Regions from separate parts of the Homo sapiens genome. Here all the other regions are linked to region 2. Evidence: promoter capture Hi-C in human tissues and cell types (Jung and others, 2019). All regions are on one chromosome and are shown on one strand. The core of a region is centred on a gene start or on the middle of the fragment in contact, and the rest is flanking DNA. Distances in the headings are between cores, read along the strand shown.

What was found. Contacts are between HindIII fragments. The study calls those that stand out against the background at their distance.
Region 1: a contact is called between a fragment that was not itself captured here and the fragment with the promoter of RRP9 in region 2, in 1 of the 25 tissues and cell types used here (dorsolateral prefrontal cortex).
Region 3: a contact is called between a fragment that was not itself captured here and the fragment with the promoter of RRP9 in region 2, in 1 of the 25 tissues and cell types used here (dorsolateral prefrontal cortex).

What each region holds. Positions count from the first base shown.
Region 1 is chr3:51,481,182-51,485,183 of GRCh38, forward strand. It overlaps DCAF1 (DDB1 and CUL4 associated factor 1), which reads right to left. Exons shown (of 25, transcript NM_001387579.1): 3 at 2,538-2,655. The coding sequence starts at 2,647. Among named protein-coding and RNA genes, the nearest start is that of DCAF1, 17 kb to the right of the region's middle. The HindIII fragment of the contact is 7,292 bases long and covers 1-4,002 here.
Region 2 is chr3:51,939,661-51,943,828 of GRCh38, forward strand. It overlaps RRP9 (ribosomal RNA processing 9, U3 small nucleolar RNA binding protein), which reads right to left and starts at 2,244. Exons shown (of 15, transcript NM_004704.5): 1 at 2,121-2,244; 2 at 1,749-1,831. The coding sequence starts at 2,207. It overlaps PARP3 (poly(ADP-ribose) polymerase family member 3), which reads left to right and starts at 2,703. Exons shown (of 11, transcript NM_001003931.4): 1 at 2,703-3,048; 2 at 3,694-3,878. The coding sequence starts at 3,696. RefSeq lists enhancers at 1,606-2,254, 2,379-2,708. The HindIII fragment of the contact is 37,282 bases long and covers 1-4,168 here.
Region 3 is chr3:52,203,028-52,207,018 of GRCh38, forward strand. ALAS1 (5'-aminolevulinate synthase 1) reads left to right here. Exons shown (of 12, transcript NM_000688.6): 5 at 836-985; 6 at 1,666-1,888; 7 at 2,812-2,996; 8 at 3,545-3,724. Among named protein-coding and RNA genes, the nearest start is that of ALAS1, 6.9 kb to the left of the region's middle. The HindIII fragment of the contact is 7,206 bases long and covers 1-3,991 here.

The DNA of each region.
Region 1 (4,002 bases), core at 1,116-3,615, 460 kb before region 2:
TAAATGGCCACATAGGCCACACTAAAAACTTTACATTTTACTCTGTAGGAAAAAGGAAGTCGGAGAAGAATGTAGGTATGAATGAAGGTAGGAAAATCCTATTTGTGTATGAGAAAAAGGAATCTTTCAGCAAGGGGGAGGATGTATTAAAAGAGGGTAAACTGGAGGGTAAACTTATAAGGCACACTGCTTAATGGGCCAGTCAAGACATGAGCAATACCTAATGCAGGCCAGGCGCAATGGCTCACTCCTGTAATCCCAGCACTTTGGGAGGCCGAGGTGGGTGGATCACCTGAGGTCAGGAGTTCAAGACCAGCCTGGCCAACATGGCAAAACCCTATCTCTACTAAAAAAAACAGAAAAATTAGCCGAGCATGGTGGCTTATGCCTGTAATCCCAGCTACTCCAGAGGCTCAGGCAGGAGAATCACTTGAACCTAGGAGGTGGGGGTTGCAGTGAGCCAAGATCGCACCACTGCCTGGGGCAGAGAGCAAGACTCCGTCTCAAAAAAAATGAAAGGTAAAATATGCCGGGCACAGTGGCTCACGCCTGTAATCCCAGCACTTTGAGAGGCCGAGGCAGTCAGGTCACTTGAGGTCAGGAGTTCGAGAACAGCCTGGCCAACATGGCAAAACCCCACCTCTACTAAAAATACAAAAATTAGCCAGCGTCGTGGCGGGCACCTGTAATCCCAGCTACTCAGGAGGCTGAGGCAGGGAGAATTGCTTGAACCTGGCAGGTGGAGGTTGTGGTGAGCCAAGATCATGCCAATGCACTCCAGCCTAGGCAACAGAGTGAGACTCCATCCCCCCAAAAAATAAAAACAAAAAAAGTTTTTCAGTTTAAAACCATTCAGTTTAAAACCAAGGTAGGGAATAAAAAAAGCATTAAGTTATGAATAAATGAGGAGACACACAGAAATGAGGATGATAAGCTCAATTTTGGACATGGTCTGTTTCAGGTATCTGTAGAAGAGCCAAGTAGGCCAGCACTGTGGCTTCGCCTGTAATCCCAGCACTTTGGGAGGCCGAGACAGGAGGATTGCTTGAGCCCAGATGTTCAAGACCAGACTGGGTAACACAGGGAGACCCTCCCTCTACAAAAAATTTAAAAATTAGTCAGGTGTGGTGGTGCACACCTGTGGTCTCATCTAGTAGGGAGGCTGAGGTAAGAAGATGGCTTGAGTCCAGGAGATCAAGGCTGCAGTGAGCTGAGATCATGCCACTACAGCCTGGTGACAGAGTGAGACCCTGTCTCCAAAAAAACAGAGCCAGAAGAGCCAGGTAAAGATATATTCACCAGGACGGGCGCAGTGGCTCACACCTGTAATCCCAGCACTTTGGGAGGCCAAGGCAGGTGAATCACCTGAGCTCAGGAGTTCAAGACCAGGCTGGCCAACATGGTGAAACCCCGTCTCTACTAAAAATACAAAAATTAGCCGGGTGTGGTGGCGTGCACCTGTAATCCCAGCTACTCGGGAGGCTGAGGCAGAAGAATAACTTGAACCCGGGAGGCGGAGGTTGCAGTGAGCCGAGATCGTGCCATTGCACTCCAGCCCAGGAGACAGTGCAACACTCCATCTCAAAAAAAAAAAAAAAAAAAAAGATACATTCACCAAACAGTTGGGAAATGAGTCTAATTTTTTTTATTTTTATTTTTTTAATTTAAAAATATGCTGGGCATGGTGGCTCACACCTGTAATCCCAGCACTTTGGGAGGCCAAGGCAGGTGGATCACCTGAGCTCAGGAGCTCAAGACCAGCCTGACCAACATGGTGAAACCCCGTCTCTACTAAAAAGATACAAAAATTAGCTGGGCGTGGTGACAAACGCCTGTAATCCCAGCTACTCAGGAGGCTGAAGCAGGAGAATTGCTTGAACCCAGGAGGCGGAGGTTACAGTAAGCTGAGATCACGCCATTGCACTCTAGCCTGGGCAACAAGAGCAAAACTCCGTATGAAAAAAAAAAAAAAAGCCAGGCTCAGTGGCTCACGCCTGTAATCCTAGCACTTTGGGAGGAGGCCAAGGCGGGTGTATCACCTAAGGTAAGGAGTTCGAGACCAGCCTGATCAACATGGTGAAACCCCGTCTCTACTAAAAAATATAAAAAGTAGCCGGGCATGGTGGTGGGAGCCTGTAATCCCAGCTACTTGGGAGGCTGAGGCAGGAGAACCCCTTGAACCCAGGAGACGGAGGTTGCAGTGAGCCGAGATCACACCATTGTACTCCAGCCTGGGCAACAAAGCAAAACTCTGACTCAAAAAAAAAAAATTAAATTAAATTAAATAAGAAAATTAAACAGCTTCAGGAAGTAGGGAGATAAAGACTAAATCTGAGGAAAGAAAAAAATTGATTTAGAATTTACAGTCTAGGTGAAAATGTTCCTATGCTATTCTCCACACCAATTTTTGCTTCTTTTTAAACTAGTTTGTGTGTGTGTGTGTGTGTGTGTGTGTGTGTGTGTGTATGAAGAAATCTAGCGTATGAGTTGTGTCCGAGGTTTTTTATTAAACTAGGTTTTAAAAAAGTTATTCATACCTGGTAAGGATAGGTACCATGTCCTGCCCACTGCCATGTTCCTTTTCCCACTGCTCCAGCAGGGTAGTGAGCTCAGCTTTGGAGTCCACATGTACCACTACTGTAGTCATGGCTTTGCCTAAGGAAGCAAAAATAAAAATAAAAAAGACAACCAATAAATGAACACAAGCAAATAAAAGTGAAGAAGGGGTAGAAAAGGACGAGAAGGCAAGAGAAAAAATTAAAAAGGGAAATTTAACCCCTTGAACCCTTTGGATTTATTTGTGGTACAGCAGAAAACTCGGGATACTCATCAAGCCTAGATACCCATTCAGTAGTGATGAACAAGTACTTTCGCCTTTCTCAGCCTCAGCTTCAACTGTCAAATGAGGCAAGAAGCTGGATCAAAACAGTGATTCTTAACCTTTTGAGGAGTCCCTTTGAAAATGAGACAAAAAATATGGTACCTTTCCCTCATCAAAAATGCATTTACCACCAGGCATGGTGGCTCACACCTGTAATCCCAGCACTTTGGGAGGCTGGGGCAGGTGGATCACCTGAGGTCAGGAGTTCGGGACCAGCCTGGCCAACATGATGAAACCCTGTCTCTACTAAAAATACAAAAATTATCTGGACATGGTGGCAGGTGACTGTAATCCCAGCTACTTGGGAGGCTGAGGCAGGAGAATCACTTGAACCTGGGAGGTAGAGGTTGCAGTGAGCCGAGATCACACCATTGCACTCCAGCTTGGGCGACAGAGCAAGACTCCGTCTCAAAAAGAAAAAAAAATAGATTTACCTAATGCCTACCTGTAATATATACAATAATCCCAGGCCTAGATCTCTGAGGTCTAAAACTTTGTGCTTACATTTTTTTAAGCACAAAATGTGGCCAAAACTACTCCCAAAATATTTTGCTCGTTAGTCCTTTGAGGGAAGTTCTATCAAAGATAAACAGCATGGCACACTCCTGTTTAATTTTTTCTTTTTTTTTTTTTTTTTTGAGATGGAGTCTCACTCTGTCACCCAGGCTGGAGTGCAATGGCACAATCTCGGCTCACTGAAACCTCCACCTCTCGGGTTCAAGCAATTCTCCTGCCTCAGCCTCCCGAGTAGCTGGAATTACAGGCGCCCGCCACCATGCCTGGCTAATTTTTGTACATTTAGTAGAGACGCAGTTTCACCACGCTGGCCAGGCTAGTCTCAAACTCCGTTTTTTGTTTTGTTTTTTTTTTGAGACAGAGTTTCACTCTTACTGCCCAGGCTGGAGTGCAATGGCACAATCTCGGCTCACTGCAACCTCTGCCTCCCGGGTTCAAGCAATTCTCCTGCCTCAGCCTCCCAAGTAGCTAGGATTACAGGCATGCACCACCACGCCCAGCTAATTTTTGTATTTTAGTAGAAACAGGGTTTCACCATGTTGGTCAGGCTGATCTCGAACTCCTGACCTCAGGTGATCCACCCGCCTCAGCCTCCCAAAGTGCTG
Region 2 (4,168 bases), core at 994-3,493:
ACCTAAATGGAAAATGTTAATTTTTTAAAAGAAGAACAAAGAAACCAAAGAAATGATTAACTCAAGTTAGGAATGACAGTTGCGGCTTCTAAGTTTCTGCAAATGTTCTAGTTCTTAACCTAAGTGGTAAGTAAGTGTACAGAGGTTTACCATTTTACCATTACTCTCTGTAGTGCAAATATATCTCATTCACTTTTCTGTATCTAACACACTTCACAACACAACATTCTAAAAATATTTAAAAGCACTTAGCCCACACTAGCCTGGCACACACTCACCCACAATAACCTTCGGATTAAGAAAAGTACATTAATGGCTGGGTGTGGTGGCTCACGCCTATAATCCCAGCACTCTGGGAGGCTAAGATGGGCGGATCACTTGAGGTCAGGAGTTCGAGACCAGCCTGGCCAACATGGTGAAACTCCATCTCTACTAAACATACATAATTAGCCAGGCATGGTGGTGCAGGCCTATAATCCCAGCTACTCAGGTGGCTGAGGCAGGAGAATCACTTGAACCTGGGAAGCAGAGGTTGCAGTGAGCCGAGATCGCACCACTGCACTCCAGCCTGGGCAACAGAGTGAGACTCTGTCTCAAAAACAAAAAAAAAAAGTACATTCTTTCCATGAGCAAATTAAGGCAACACATACTCAATTTTAGAAGCGAGTTCTAAAGTCAACTCATAGGGAAGGCACTAGGATTCTCTGGTCCAAGAGCCTCCAACCCACAGGGTCAGGCCTGACACCATGCCTGACCCTTTGAAAACCTGCAAGCAACCACACCCATCACCTGCAGAAATGAGGGAGGCATCCAAAGCCCTCTACAATCTACATGCACTTATGACCAGTCCTCCTGTTTTTGTGTGTGGTTTTTTTTTAGAGACAGGATCTTGCTGTCACCCAGACTGGAGAGCAGTGCATGATCATAGTTCACTGCAGCTTCAACTCCCTGGGAAGGGATCCCCAAACCTTAGCCTCCTGAGTAGTTGGGACTACAGGTGCACACCACCATACCCAGCTAACTTTTTTTTTTTGTACAGACAAGATCTCGCTATGTTGCCCAGGCTGGTCTCAAACTCCTGACATCAAGCAATCCTCCCGCCTTGGCCTCCCAAAGTGCTGGGATTAGAGGCATGAGTTACCAGGCCCAGCCCCCTTTCATCTTTTCTACTGCCCATTCTGGCACACTTACACCTCAGACTTTCCTCTGATCACTGAATGCCTTCCCTACCTCTCCGTGAGAGACTCCTCTTCATCTCTCAAGACCCTATTTAAATGTCCCTCCTCTGTTCCCAGAACACACAACTATAAAATACACACCTCACTACAACACACTCTCTTCACCCGCCTGCCTATCTCTGCACTTCCAACAGCAAAGGCAGTGCCTGGCATGTTAAGAGACGGGGAGCCCAGTAATTGTGAAATTGCAGGAAAACTGGCAAGGGAAGAAGGATGCAAGAAATACTTGACAGCTTTGTTCTGTTTTCCTGCAATTTCTCAATCAGTCCAGTCCCTGCCAAAACCTAAGGAGGTCTCAATGGCCTCGGATTGGGGCCCAGGGTCCTTCCCACCCAGAGACCTCGCAGAAACAAGACTTTGCAGGACCAGAAACTAAAGGAAACAGCCACGATCTCAGAGCCAAGGGACAGAGTCTTGGATTCTAGGCTCAGTTCTGTTCGGACTCACTCAGTCTTCCGTGCACCATGGGACTCAGTTTTCCCTCCCACTATGTGGAAAAGAATAGCTCACCTCTCGCTCTCAGAGTCGCTGGAGATCTCCTCATTCATCTTGCCGCCACCCTTGGATTTGCCCCTGTCCCCCGCAGAGTCGGCCTGGGAATTATACGGTCTTTTCTTTGGTCAGGGGTCCAGACCACCCTGGCATTGACCAAGGGCCCCCCCCCCTCGGTTCCCTCAGAACCCCAGGAATGGGGAAGGCGGTGGTTCCCGGGTTAAGCGAACGGCTTTCTAGGATTTGGCCCGCGGAGAGAGGGACGAAGCTGACTCCAGCAGGGGTCCAGGGCGAAGGGCTGGGGAAGGGCCGGGACCCAGGTCCCCTGGATGGGATGACGGTTGTCCCAGTAGCAGGGCTGACCGCGGCCCTCAGAAGCGCCATGCTCACCTTTCGCCGCCGCTTGCCGGCCCCCGCGCCAGCCCCGGCCCCAGAGGCCGGCTTTCCCCGCTTACGAGCAGCCGCTGTTGCCGACATGCTGCCCACCAGGCGTGTAGCAGCGGCCGCAGAACTCACGTGGCAGCTGAACCCTCCCAGCTCCCCAGCCGCCTGGCAAGACCCCGCGTATTGATAGGCTTCCACCGCCCGCCGGGCCCCGCCTCCTACTGCTCCATTGGGTCCTTCTGCAGGCTCTGCCACGCCCCCAGGCACCCATAGGATGCACGCTTGTAGCCCCGCCTCCTGAAGTTCCTAGGCTCCCGCACCAGGCTCGAGTAGGAAGCCCGCATCTCCACGGCGCTTCCGGCCTGATGCTGTGGCGCTTGCGCTCTGCTGCTGGCCCACTTCGAAGTCGGAGCAAGAGCCTTCTCTGTGTTTGCGCCCCTTGGCCGCTGGGGGGCGCCAGAGACGCGGCGCCCTTTCGCGTTCTGGAACGTGACTCCTCCCCTCCATGGGCAGCCCGGCGCTAGACCCAACGGGGATCCAAGCAGCCCCGGGGAGAGGGAGGCTGCGTCTGTATCCGGGCCCAAGGTCACCGCGCGACCGGCAGATGCGTGCTGCAGGCCCCGGCCACATGAGCAGCGCTACGGACGCGACTGCCCCGGCCTTGGATATGCCAGATCGAGTGTCCACCCGTCCGTGGGACTGGTCGCCTGACTCGGCCTGCCCCAGCCTCTGCTTCACCCCACTGGTGGCCAAATAGCCGATGTCTAATCCCCCACACAAGCTCATCCCCGGCCTCTGGCGATTGTTGGGAATTCTCTCCCTAATTCACGCCTGAGGCTCATGGAGAGTTGCTAGACCTGGGACTGCCCTGGGAGGCGCACACAACCAGGCCGGGTGGCAGCCAGGACCTCTCCCATGTCCCTGCTTTTCTTGGGTGAGTGTCCTATGGTCCTGCCCACGGCAGGGCAGGGCAAGGCCTGGTGGGACTGGCCTTTGCCCTCTATCAGTTCAAGGCCACTGATCCGGAGTTCTGGCTCCTCAGAACTCTTGAGTCCATTGGGAAGGGCTTCTACAGCTCTGGGTTCTAAGCTCCGGGAGGATAATCTGGCCCCAAGAATCCTGCCCCCAGGATCCTCTGCCCACCCTCCCCCATAGCTCGGTGACTCGGCCCGGCAACCATGCCAGGGCTGAACTAGCTGACACAGGGGGAGGAGCCCCGAAGTGGAAGAGAGAGAGCCTCCTTTCACTTTCCCTACCCCTCAGGACACACAGGTGAGCTGCAGAGGGTAGGGAGCCAGGCAGACCCTGTTGACCAGAGTGGGCAGACTGGACAGAGTCCTAACCTTGCACTTGGGACTGGGGAAAGGGGTGTTTCTGAGTGACAAAGAGCTGGGTGTGGTCTGGGGCTGGGAATGCCGTCAGAGTGGACACAGGATGCAGTGGGAGGCCACCGAAGGGCCAACCCGGGGTGGGGCAAGTTGGTGCTGTGCTGGCCCAGGGCAGGGGTGGGGACTGAGAGTGGGTCGTTGGGGATGAGGAGACCATGGAGGCCTAAGGGCCTCTCTGTGCCCCAGGACAGCCATGGCTCCAAAGCCGAAGCCCTGGGTACAGACTGAGGGCCCTGAGAAGAAGAAGGGCCGGCAGGCAGGAAGGGAGGAGGACCCCTTCCGCTCCACCGCTGAGGCCCTCAAGGCCATACCCGCAGAGAAGCGCATAATCCGCGTGGATCCAACATGTCCACTCAGCAGCAACCCCGGGACCCAGGTGAGCTGCAGTCCCCAGTCAGGCCCAGAGCCTGCCCACTGATAAGCACAAACACACCCAGGCCACCCCCTTAGGACTCTGTTCTGGTTTTGGAGCCCAAGGCCCCCAGGTAAGCGCCAGAGCAAGGCCATGTTCTCCTGACCCCAGACATCAGGGCTGTGTCCCGTCAGGTCCAGGCGGGTCACATCTGCCCTTCAGACCCCATGCAGGCCTCCTCCCACCGCACTTAGGGAAAGGCTGTGACTACATCAGTCTCCTGGGCGCTTGCCCATGTCCCCTCAGGGCAGAGC
Region 3 (3,991 bases), core at 754-3,253, 260 kb after region 2:
TTCCCATCATCTGCTAGGATAAAGATAGAAAATAATGGTTTTACTGCAGTAAGTGCTGGTCCTAGGGCTCCCAAGCCGTGTGTCTTACTGATGGTCATTGAATTGCAACCTTAACTCCACAATATATAGGTGTGGCTATATCTGCAGAGAACTCAAGGCTCCCCAAAAGCCTAACCAGCAGAAATTATGCATATGGCCAAAATTGTTTTCTATGAAGAAAATTGAGATTAGGACCAGGCCCAGTGGCTCACACCTATAATCCCAGCACTTTGGGAGGCCGAGGCAGGTGGATCACTTGAGGCCAGGAGTTTAAGACCAGCCAGGCCAACATGGGGAAACCCCATCCCTACCAAAAATACAAAGATTAGCTGGGCATGATGGCGCATGCCTATAGTCCCATCTTCTCAGGAGGTTGAGGAGGGAGGATCGCTTGAACCCAGGAGGCAGAGGTTGCAATGAGTCGAGATCGTGCCACTGCTCTCCAGCCTGGGTGACAGAATGGGACTCTGTCTCAAAAAAAAAAAAACAGAAAATTGAGATTAGGATTGGGGTGGGGATGTAGTGGAGTGAATAAGACATGCCAACCAGCAAGAAAGCTTTGGACTTTATTGTTCATTAAAGCTGGCCAGTAGCTCTGAAAACAACACCAAGAGTCTGCCATTACAGTAACTAAAATAGAAGAGATGCTTTGTACACTCAGTTATAACTAACTTTGGTTATGCTTGGCCTTTTTTGTGAACTAGGCCATAAGCCATTTTTGACAATATGTTTGGAAGATATTGTGAACTCAGAATAGAAAGTTGGTCCCATTTGTTTCTTGTTACTTTTGTTCCAGAGGTTGCTGAAACCTCAGCAGGCCCCAGTGTGGTTAGTGTGAAAACCGATGGAGGGGATCCCAGTGGACTGCTGAAGAACTTCCAGGACATCATGCAAAAGCAAAGACCAGAAAGAGTGTCTCATCTTCTTCAAGATAACTTGCCAAAATGTAAGTCTCATTGTTATTTGCCTGATGTAGAAAAGAATTTATAATTCAAATGTACATTAGATTAAATATAAAATTGCATGGTGAGGCTGGGCACAGTAGCTCATACCTGTAATCCCAGCACTTTGGGAGGCTGAAGCGGGAGAAGATCACTTGAGGCCAGGAGTTTGAGGCCAGCCTTGGCAACATAGCAAGACACTATCTCTACCAAAACAGTTTTTTTAATTAGCCAGGCATGATGGCTTGCATCTATAGTCCCAGCTACTCAGGAGGCTAAGGTAGGAAGATTGCTTAAGCCCAAGACTTCAAGGTTCAGTGAGCTATGATCACGCTATTGCACTCCAGCCTGAATGACAGACAGAGACTCAGTTTCTAGGAAAAACAAAAAAATGTATGGTGAGTTGAGGCTTGAAAGCCATATCCCTTGCTTGCGTGAGCAGGTGCTTTTGGTTGTGGTGACTACAGGTGCTGTTGGTAGCCTGCCTTCTGTCCTTTAATACTTACCGTCTACACATGGCACTGAGCCAAACACGACATACAGTCTTATTTACTTACAAGATGAGGACATCAAATAACCTGCCCAGGATCTCCCTCAGTTGCCAAGCTGAGACTTGTTGTATTTCACCAAAATGCAGCTGTGTTTCACAACCACCATTCTGTACTGTCTTTTGTTCAATTTTTAGCTGTTTCCACTTTTCAGTATGATCGTTTCTTTGAGAAAAAAATTGATGAGAAAAAGAATGACCACACCTATCGAGTTTTTAAAACTGTGAACCGGCGAGCACACATCTTCCCCATGGCAGATGACTATTCAGACTCCCTCATCACCAAAAAGCAAGTGTCAGTCTGGTGCAGTAATGACTACCTAGGAATGAGTCGCCACCCACGGGTGTGTGGGGCAGTTATGTAAGTAGCCCTTGGCTTTCAAATATTACTGTTGTTATTTGGCAAGCCAATGATGATGTATAGGGGTTGGATCTTTTATGGAGGGAACATTCAGTAGCTGAAAGTGTGCCATAGCAAAATACTATTCTTAGCTTCTGAAAAATATCTACAGATTACTTTTAAAGGAACTCTAATATGCAGGTAGCTGCTGGAGCCCCTTAACTTGTGAGGGTTCAAGCTTATAGGCTCAATGACCACACACGTCAGTCCACTTTCTATCACTCTGCAAGTGAGTGTGCCTTTAACACCAGGCAGTCTTTCACAGAGACATCCTTGGTTGTGGCTGTGAGTGGAGAAATACGAATCTAGCAGCGCTAGAGAAAAAGCTACTCCAAAAGACATGTTAAAAAGGATGGTAGATCCCATCACTCGTCCTTCAGGAGGCTCACCATCCTAGGGATGCTGGAGAGAGTTGCTGGCCAGATTCTCCAAAGGCTTGCTAAAGAGGGTCCCGGTTTGAGGTTTAATGATAGTGATATATCCAAACATTACATGACTGGCTTGCAGAGGGTAACCACCATCCAGGATGTCCCTCTAGAGTTTGCTTTTTCTTAAGCTAACATGTTATTGGAAAGAATAATGTTTCTCAGAAAATAAACCTTAGTTTCTTAGAAAAGAAACTCAGCTAATACCAAGCACTTACTGACTGTTAAATGAACACTTGTTCTTGATGATTCCTGGAGGTATCATCACCCTAGCATTGACACCTTCTCCCACCTAGTCTGAAGATGAAATCAGTTGAAATTTCTGACCCCAGGTTTCACAGTGAGAGAGTTGCTACATCAACATGTTTCAGTCTCCTGGATCCTAGAAAGGGGAAAAAATTCACATGGTGTTGAGAACCATGAGCTTTATTTTCTGGTTTTGTTTGTATTTTTAAACAGGGACACTTTGAAACAACATGGTGCTGGGGCAGGTGGTACTAGAAATATTTCTGGAACTAGTAAATTCCATGTGGACTTAGAGCGGGAGCTGGCAGACCTCCATGGGAAAGATGCCGCACTCTTGTTTTCCTCGTGCTTTGTGGCCAATGACTCAACCCTCTTCACCCTGGCTAAGATGATGCCAGGTAAGGAAGCCTGGCATGAGTGCCTTCGAGTTTTTTGGGTTTCTTAGTAATAACAAGAATATTGGCAACAAAGAAGCCTTACCAGAACCTCTCAATTGAAAATCATAATCCTATCTGGGCATTTGTTCTGGGGTCAAGCATGAAATGCTGACTGTACATTATGGGTTCCAGGAGAACGTGATACCAGTGAAAATTCAAACTTGAAACGTCTCATCCTTGAGCTAATTGCCTCAAATATGTTTTGTATTCTAAGATGATCCTTTGGAGAAGTCTCTTAATCATTTAGTTAGCTCTTGATTGAGTTTGGAGTGAGGCAGTCAGATTTAAGAGCAGATTAATGGCCTGCCACAAGGTTATTCTACACCTTTGGGCCTTCTCACAAGGGAAGCACTAACTAGTTATTTTGCCAGGAAGAAACTGGCACACAGTGTCTTTTTCCTACTAGGCATTTTCAAAGCATCATTTCCAAGGAAAAGTCTGTTGTCTTTCTCTAGGAAATAATTTGTCTTCGATGCACATGGCAATAAATAGCATTTTTGTTGTCTTAGGCTGTGAGATTTACTCTGATTCTGGGAACCATGCCTCCATGATCCAAGGGATTCGAAACAGCCGAGTGCCAAAGTACATCTTCCGCCACAATGATGTCAGCCACCTCAGAGAACTGCTGCAAAGATCTGACCCCTCAGTCCCCAAGATTGTGGCATTTGAAACTGTCCATTCAATGGATGGTAAGTGTGGATAGAGGTTCCTCTGAAACCTAAGATGAAAAACTATGCCTGAACTCTTTAAAAGTATGGTGTTTTGTTGTGTTTTTTAATTTTTTTTTTTTGTGACCGATCCTCGCTCTGTTGCCCAGGCAGGAGTGCAGTGGTGCGATCTCGACTCACTGCAAGCTCCGCCTCCCGGGTTCACGTCATTCTCCTGCCTCAGCCTCCCGAGTAGCTGGGACTACAGACACCTGCCACCACGCCTGGCTAATTTTTTTTTTTTTTTTT